2 separate regions of the Homo sapiens genome follow, and region 1 is linked to region 2. Evidence: promoter capture Hi-C in human tissues and cell types (Jung and others, 2019). All regions are on one chromosome and are shown on one strand. The core of a region is centred on a gene start or on the middle of the fragment in contact, and the rest is flanking DNA. Distances in the headings are between cores, read along the strand shown. Region 1 holds the start of RHOBTB2 (Rho related BTB domain containing 2). Region 2 holds the start of PHYHIP (phytanoyl-CoA 2-hydroxylase interacting protein).

Evidence for each region. The method cuts DNA at HindIII sites, captures the fragments that hold promoters and counts their contacts. A contact is called where the count stands out against the background at its distance.
Region 1: the fragment with the promoter of RHOBTB2 here is called in contact with the fragment with the promoter of PHYHIP in region 2 in 1 of the 25 tissues and cell types used here (small bowel).

The regions. Positions count from the first base shown.
Region 1 is chr8:22,998,298-23,002,066 of GRCh38, reverse strand. It overlaps RHOBTB2 (Rho related BTB domain containing 2), which reads right to left and starts at 2,519. Exons shown (of 10, transcript NM_015178.3): 1 at 1,962-2,519. RHOBTB2-AS1 (RHOBTB2 antisense RNA 1) reads left to right here and starts at 2,262. Exons shown (of 2, transcript XR_007060857.1): 1 at 2,262-2,388. RefSeq lists silencers at 1,810-1,859, 2,190-2,359, 2,580-2,839. The HindIII fragment of the contact is 11,667 bases long and covers 1,144-3,769 here.
Region 2 is chr8:22,230,806-22,234,290 of GRCh38, reverse strand. PHYHIP (phytanoyl-CoA 2-hydroxylase interacting protein) reads left to right here and starts at 2,192. Exons shown (of 5, transcript NM_014759.5): 1 at 2,192-2,495. RefSeq lists an enhancer at 1,815-2,562. The HindIII fragment of the contact is 22,356 bases long and covers 1-3,485 here.

The DNA.
Region 1 (3,769 bases), core at 1,270-3,769, 770 kb before region 2:
GGAGCACCTTGACAGTGAGAATAATGCCAGAACACCAGCAGAGCAGTGCTGGGCCAAGTTCAGCTACTTTGTGATGAAAACACTGCTGCCCACCTGTGCTATGTCACCTCTAGAGTTAAGCAGTGGTCAGCCAATCAACAAGTGGAAATTGACAAATACTGTGCCATGAGTTTAGACATCAGACCTTCTGGGTTGCGCAACCCCTTCCATCCATTCCCCAGCCCCTTCAGCAGTCCCCTTGTCCTTCAGCTGCCTCTCTGTTTGTATCATCTCACCCTTTCTACCCTGTCCCAACTGCCTGACTGGCAAACTTCACTGTCCTATCTAGGAAGAGGCAAGTCACTTATATTTTCTGGGCATCAGTCTCCCCCTCTGGGAAATGGGTATGAAGACATTGGAAGAGTCTCCTGAACCGTGGTTAATTTGTGCCAAGAGAGGCTGGGCTGAAAGGAGGTATTTGTCTTCTTATGTAATGTGGTATTATATAATGCTAGATTGCATATCTATATGTGTAATTATATCTGTCTTTAAGATACAGACTGGCCCAATTCAAGTGTTAGAACTCTTAGTCTAATCAGGCCTGTCTTAAAGGAGGATCCTGTCCTGGAGAGAGTGTGCCAAGAGTAATATAATTTTTGCCCTAGGATGTTGCTGATGTTGTATCATTGCTGATGTATGGTGATACAGCCCACTCATTGCTGATATATGGTGATACAGCCCATTCAGTGAGCCTCTCAGCTTCCCCTCTCCCTCCGGCTCTCTCTTCTTCCCTGACTCCAGACTCTCCCTCACAATTGCCTCATCCCCACTCAATCAACCTCCATAAACTATGACCTCCTCACCACCCAGCCCTGGGCATCACAACCCCCAACTCACTCCTCTTCCATGACAATCGCAAAGTCACTGGCATGTGTTCCTTCCATCCCTGTCCCATGATCCCTGTGCCCCTCCAAAAACAGCCTCCTGCCCACCGCTCTCCCAGCTCTTTGTACTTGGTGCAAGCCAAAACCCAAGGTGTGCTGAAATTAGCTACAAACCTCGTGCTCTCCCAGTCCCACCCCCACACCCCTACACACACTCTTTGCAGAGCTCAGAAAGGGCCCCTTTCCCTCCCACAGCTGATAGGAGGCTTGTTCATCTGTGGCTGCCCTAGTCTGGTTGTCAAGGAAACAACAGAATCTCCCTGGGAGCCTGGCTTGTCTCCTAGCAACCAGTATCCCACATCATCTTACAAAATGGGAATGGGAGGAAAATCCTGAAAATGAAGGTAAAATCAAGGGAGATGGATTGAATGGAGAATTGGAAGGAGAAGAACAAAGAGAGAGTGGACTCCTAATTCGGGGAGGCTCCCACGGGGGTCGCTGGCATTGCAAGAAGCCCCGTGCAGATCCAACAGAAAGCAAGGCCCAAAGGGACCCTGAATGGTCAGATTAAAGAAATGCAAGCCTAAACACAGATAAGCCCCCTCAAACCTAAAATGTGGACACATCACCAAACACCGCCAAAGATCTCCCCAGTAGTTTCACAGAACTCAGTTACATAGACTGCAATGGAGTTGAGTTCAAAGAACCAGCTCCGGAACCGCCAGCAAAACACCCCAATTCCACTGTTGTTTTGTGTTTGTTTTCTTAACAGAATCACTCCCACCACTCTGGACCGTTTTTCCTTTTTTCTGACACGCTACTCTGCACACACACAAAATAGAAATTTAAAAATTTTTAAACATCGAGAAGGGGGAGGGGCACGACAGGCCGAAGCAATCAAGTCATCTTCCTTTCCCTAGAAACACCGGAAAGGATTAGGCTCCAGCCCCGCTGTACCCAGCAGCCGAAGCCAGAGCCCAGGGACTAGCGGGGCCCGGGGAACGTAGCGAGGGGCGCGGCAGGGCAGGGAGGGCGGAGCGGCGCGTCTGCAAGGGCTGCTGGCCACCCCGCCATAACCGCAAGCAGCCATCTACTTACACCACTACATGTGACGGGGTGGCTTCTAGCGTGAGGAACACATCTCTTCCTGCTGAGCACGCTCATTTTAGTGAAATGTCAGGGGTCCCTCCGCGCCTGCAAGTTGGGACGACGCCGGCGCCGCCGCGCTGCTGCTGGGCTCCAGCCTCCCGGCCAGCTCGCGGCCACTCAGAAACTCCGGCAGGGCAGCCCAGGCCGGACGTGGGCCCAGGAGCGGACGCGCGCGCTGCACTGCAGCCGCTGCCCCTTCCGGATCAGCATCGCCCCGCGCGCCAGGCGCCCAATGTCACGGCGGCGCGCGGAGCCGGGCTGCGGAGGCAGCGGGCGGCGCGCAGGGGCGCCGGGAGAGGGGCGAGGCCGCCGCCGCTACGCGCCCGGGCCCGCGGCGAAGGCGCTGCCGCGAAGACGCCTGGCGCTGCAGTCCCAGGTACCGCTCGCGACCTCCTTTTTTCATTCACAAAAAAAGGATAGGGAAAAAAAAAAGAAAAGAAAAAAACGGGAGGGTAAAAAAAGGAGGAGAAAAAAATCGCACCCAAGACGACAGCCGTGACGGGCCCCGCCCACTGCCGCGCGCAGTTGGTGGAAAGCGTTCGGGGGGCGGGGAGGGGGCGGGCGGGGGAAGAAGGGGATTGGACGCCCCGCAGATCCCGCCTCGCAGCACCGCTCCCGCCCACCGCCCGCGCTCTTCCGCCCCTCCCGCAGCGACGCCGCGGGGAGGGTCTCGGCTCGCGGGTCTGGGTGGCGCCGGTCCCTCCACCTGGCGAGGCGCAAAGGCTCTCCGGACGCCCACGGGGTTTTCCCCTTTCCTTCGGGAGGCGGGGGAGAACCTCTGAGAGGCATCCTAGTGCACCCTGGAAGGGATGCTAGTTGGAGGAGAACGTGTGGTTGTAAGCCCAGGCCCCCACCACTTGCCCACGGGGAGGCGACGGCAGGGGCAGTCGGGGGGGCGGGGGGCGGGGGCCGGGTAGGGACGAATAACCGGCGTTTCCATACAAGCCCTCTGCTGCTTTGGGAATTTTCGTGGCACTTGAGAGCCTTCCTCCCTCCATGGCCCTTAATGAGTTGTGGGGTGGGTACCTGTACCACGTTACCTGTCTCCCACCTAGGCCTTCTTCAGCGGGTCCCCACCTCCATCCCATCCCCCTCCTGTTGCCTCCTGGAGTTCAGTAATAGCTGCTAATCTCTGAAAGAAACACCATGAAGTGAGTAGCCTCGAAAATCGTCCCTAAGCCTTCTTTGGGTTTTCTGCCTCAATTTACCCCTCTGTAAAATAGAGAGATTCTAAGGTATAACATCTATAACCTGAGGGGTCCCTAGAAGACACTTTCCATATTCAAGGCTGGTTTTATCAGGATAATCTTTTTTTTTTTTTTTTTTTTTTGAGTCTCCCTCTGTTGCCCAGGCTGGAGTGCAGTGGTGCAATCTTGGTTCACTGCAACCTCCGCCTCTTGGGTTCAAGCAGTTCTGCCTCAGCCTCCCGAGTAGCTGGGACTACAAGTGCACGCCACTATTCCCAGCTAATTTATGTATTTTTGGTAGAGACGGGGTTTCACCACCTTGGCCAGGCTGGTCTCGAACTCCTGACCTCGGGTGATCTGCCTGCCTTGGCCTCCCAAAGTACTAGGATTACAGGCGTGAGCCACCATGCCCAGCCAGGATGATCTTGACTGCTAGTGTTAAGTAGTCAGCTCAGTCTGGTTTGATTCATCTCCTCAGTTACCTCTGGACAATTTTTAAAGCCCAGACCAGCCTGCCACCCACCTGAACCGCCTCCACCACTCCTCCATCTTGTGCTCTGAAAATGCAAA
Region 2 (3,485 bases), core at 943-3,442:
CGGCACGCAGCTCCACAAAGGGGCGCTCAGATGGCTATTGCTCATGCTTGGGCCACAGGACCTCGTGCAGTCTCCTCATGACATCCCGAGAAGGTGGGAGGCAGGGATGGTGCTGGGGCTAGTTTTCCTTTGGCAGAAGGGGAAACCAAGTCACAGAGAACCTGCCTTTTTCCTTGCACTGCCCCTCTGTGTGGTCCTAGGGACAGGATTTTATTATTTATTTATTTATTTATTTTTCGAGGCACAATCTCACTCTGTCACTCAGGCTGGAGTGCAGTGGTGCAATCTTGGCTCACTGCAACCTCCACCTCCCGGGTTCAAGCGATTCTTGTGCCTCAGCCTCCCAAGTAGCTGGGATTACAGGCGCCCACCACCACACCCAGCTAATTTTTATATTTTTAGTAGAGATGGGGTTTCGCCATGTTAGCTAGGCTGGTCTCGAACTCCTGATCTCAGGTGATCTGCCTGCCTCAGTCTCCCAAAGTGTTCGGATTCTTGTGAGCCACTGCGCCCGGCCTGGGACAGAATTGTAGTCCAGATGTCATGTGCTGGCCATCACCAGGAGGTTACGTTTTGCATCTCTTCTGAGCTCACCAGCTCGGCGTGGGTATGTCGGAGCAGGACGTAGTCATGCTTGGCCAAGGGGGTGCTTAGTCCTGCCTCAGTGCCACGCACCACCCCACATTCGGCAGTTCAGGACCTGGCCAGGCTCACTGAGGTTCTCACAGCCGTTTCAGGCAGGGTTGGCTTCTGCTTGTCTTTGCATTCTGTGAACTCTCACTTTCTGCTGCTGTTACCTCCTCTGACTTTTGCACTGAGGCCTGCCGCCTCAACTCCCTCTTGGTGAGTGTTTCTTAGGCTCAGCTCACACCTTCTCCTGCTCACCAAGACCTCACCCTGGGCCTGCCTGGTGTCAGCTGCCCCCGTGCCAATCCTCCCCACCCCAGCCGCACTCCTGCTTCCACAGCCTCCTCTGGCCTGCACCCTGCACGTGCCCTGGAGCCGCCCATTGTTCTTTCTCTGAATGAGTATCTGTGCCCTACGATTTAGTTGTGTGCTCCTCATTCTCTAATTGCATCCTCTAAATGGCCATCTTCTCTCCCGTAGAGGACTGTGGGCTCCTTGCAGGAAGATGCTGTCGATATGATGGGAACAAGAACAGTTCTGACATGTGACTGGCACTTCTGATGTGCCAGGCCCAGGGCTGGGCGATTTACCTAATTATTTCATTCCATGATGACAATAAACCTGTGTGATCCCACTTGACAGATGAAGAGAGGTTGAGTGGCTTGTCCAAGGTCCCCCAGCTGGGTAGCAGTAGAGCAGGGATTCTCAGCACATCCATCTGACTGTGAGCCTGTGCTTTTCACCACTGCGCAACCCTCTGTCCCTGCTTGCTGCTGGACTCACATTTCCTTGGATGTTCTTCCCGATGGCCTCCACGGAGTCTGCTTCTTGATGGCAGAACAGCCTCCTGCTGCCGTGAGAGCAGAATTACATTCTCTCCCCAAGATGCCCAGGGCCGGCTTCCTTTGTGCTCAGAGAGTGGGGTGGGCTGAGGACACTCAGAGCTTGGTGTGTTCTCCCACCCCCATTTTCTTACCCCTGTGCACCCTGCACTGTGCCACAGCCTCTCTCCCAGCCCCTTTTCCTGTGGACCCCCAAGCTGCCAGAGGGTTCTTGCCAGACCCACAGGGATCCCTGAGCTGCAGGTCTGCCATCTCTCTCTAGAGTTGGTAAGAAAATGGAACCACAGTTCACCAAAAGGCCCCAAGGAGAGGCTCCGGACTGAAGACAGCCACCCCAGCTTCACACCCCCCATCTGGACCTTTCCCCTCTACAGCCTCCCTCCCCTTCCCCCAATCAGAGTCTTTGCTTTGGGGCCCAAGCCCTTGGCTAAGCTCCACCCCTCTCCCAGCATCCTAAAGTTTGGGGGCTGCATTCAAGTCAGAGATTTCCAAGTAGGGGGTGTGTTGGAGGGACTTCTGAGGGCAGCTTGTCCTGGAAGAATGGGGGAAAGGCGGCGTGTGTTGCTGTCCCTGAGGACATCTGTGTAGCTCCCTGGGAGACCCTCTGCCCTTTCCCCCTCCCACCAGCCCGGCGAGCAGGGACCAAGCCTGCTTATTATCACCTGACGCTGCGCAGCCGCTGATCCCATTGGTGGAGGCAGATTCGGTCTGGCTCTCTCGTTCTTTCTCCCTTCTCTGCCTCTCTCTCCTCCACGCTGCTTTGATTTCGCTCTTGCCTCTCTTCTTGCGCTGCTCAGCTGGGAACATCGTCTCACCAGGGGCAGCAGCGACGCGCTGCACAGCCAGACAGGAGCTGGCTGCGGGGCATGGAAGCAGCCTCCTTGGCAGCCGGGAGAGGAGCAAGCGCACGCCACTGCCCGTGACCCAGGCGTCCGGCTGCTGTCCCCTGCCGGGGAGCTCATCCACGCAGAGGTCTCTCCCTGTCCTCCCTGCGAGCTTTTCCTCTGCAGAGCCCAGTGGAGCCAGGTGAGTACCCTTCCTCCCTGGAACCTGCTGCTGTTGATCCTGAGTAGCCGGGATCTGGGGGCTCTAGGGTCCTGCCACCACCCAGGGTGCCCACCTGGACTGCCAGGCCTGACGACCTTGTCCCCTCTCCCCCCCCCCGGCCAGGCCTTTGGCAAAGTGGTTAATGGCTGAATCCAGTCTCTGGGGCACCACAGTTAGTCACCCCGTGACCGTTCTGCTGCAGTCAGCGATGCCAACAGGGACAGCAGGGTGGGGGAAGCATTCCCTGTGGCAGGGTGGCTGTTTGAATGGGCATGGGGAAGGGGCACCGGTGTGCGCGGCGTGTGTGTGTGCGCGCTCGCGAGTTGGCTGGAGGCTTGCTGGCGCAGATAGGTCCGTCTGTCCGCAGTCATGCTCATGTGTGGGTTTTGAATGGTGTGAGGCATGTCTAGAAACATATCTTTCTGGCACACGTGAGGTACATGTGTGTGGGGGACTTATTTGAGTAGCCTGTGGGTGTGCGTGGGTGGGGACACTATGAGGCAGTATATTTAGGGGTAACCATGTCCCTTTTCATGTGTGTGGGAGTGTATGCAGACAGGGGCTTTCTATATGGGGAGGTGAGACCCAGAGCAGGATGGAGTGGGTAAAGAGAAGAAGGGGCAGAAACCATTGTCTGTGGGCAGAGCCACGTAGGTGCACAAACCTGTTGGCATGAAGGCTCAGGGCTGGCAGAGTGTGGCCAGAGGCAAACACATTTTCAAAGTCTGTCTTTGAGCCTGGAGATGATTCGAGAGAGAATACCAGACTTCGGGCGGGGGCTGCTGTGTGTATGAACACACATGTGTGTGCCGGCAGGCGTGTGGGTTGCGTGCCTTCTTGTGGAGGTGGCACACATGCATGTTGGTGCCTGTGGCATCCTCTTTTCCCCACATATGGCTTGTGAGGCGGTGTGCGTGGACGTGTGTGTGCGTGAGCCTGTGGACATGAACATGTCTGGGTGTGCATGGA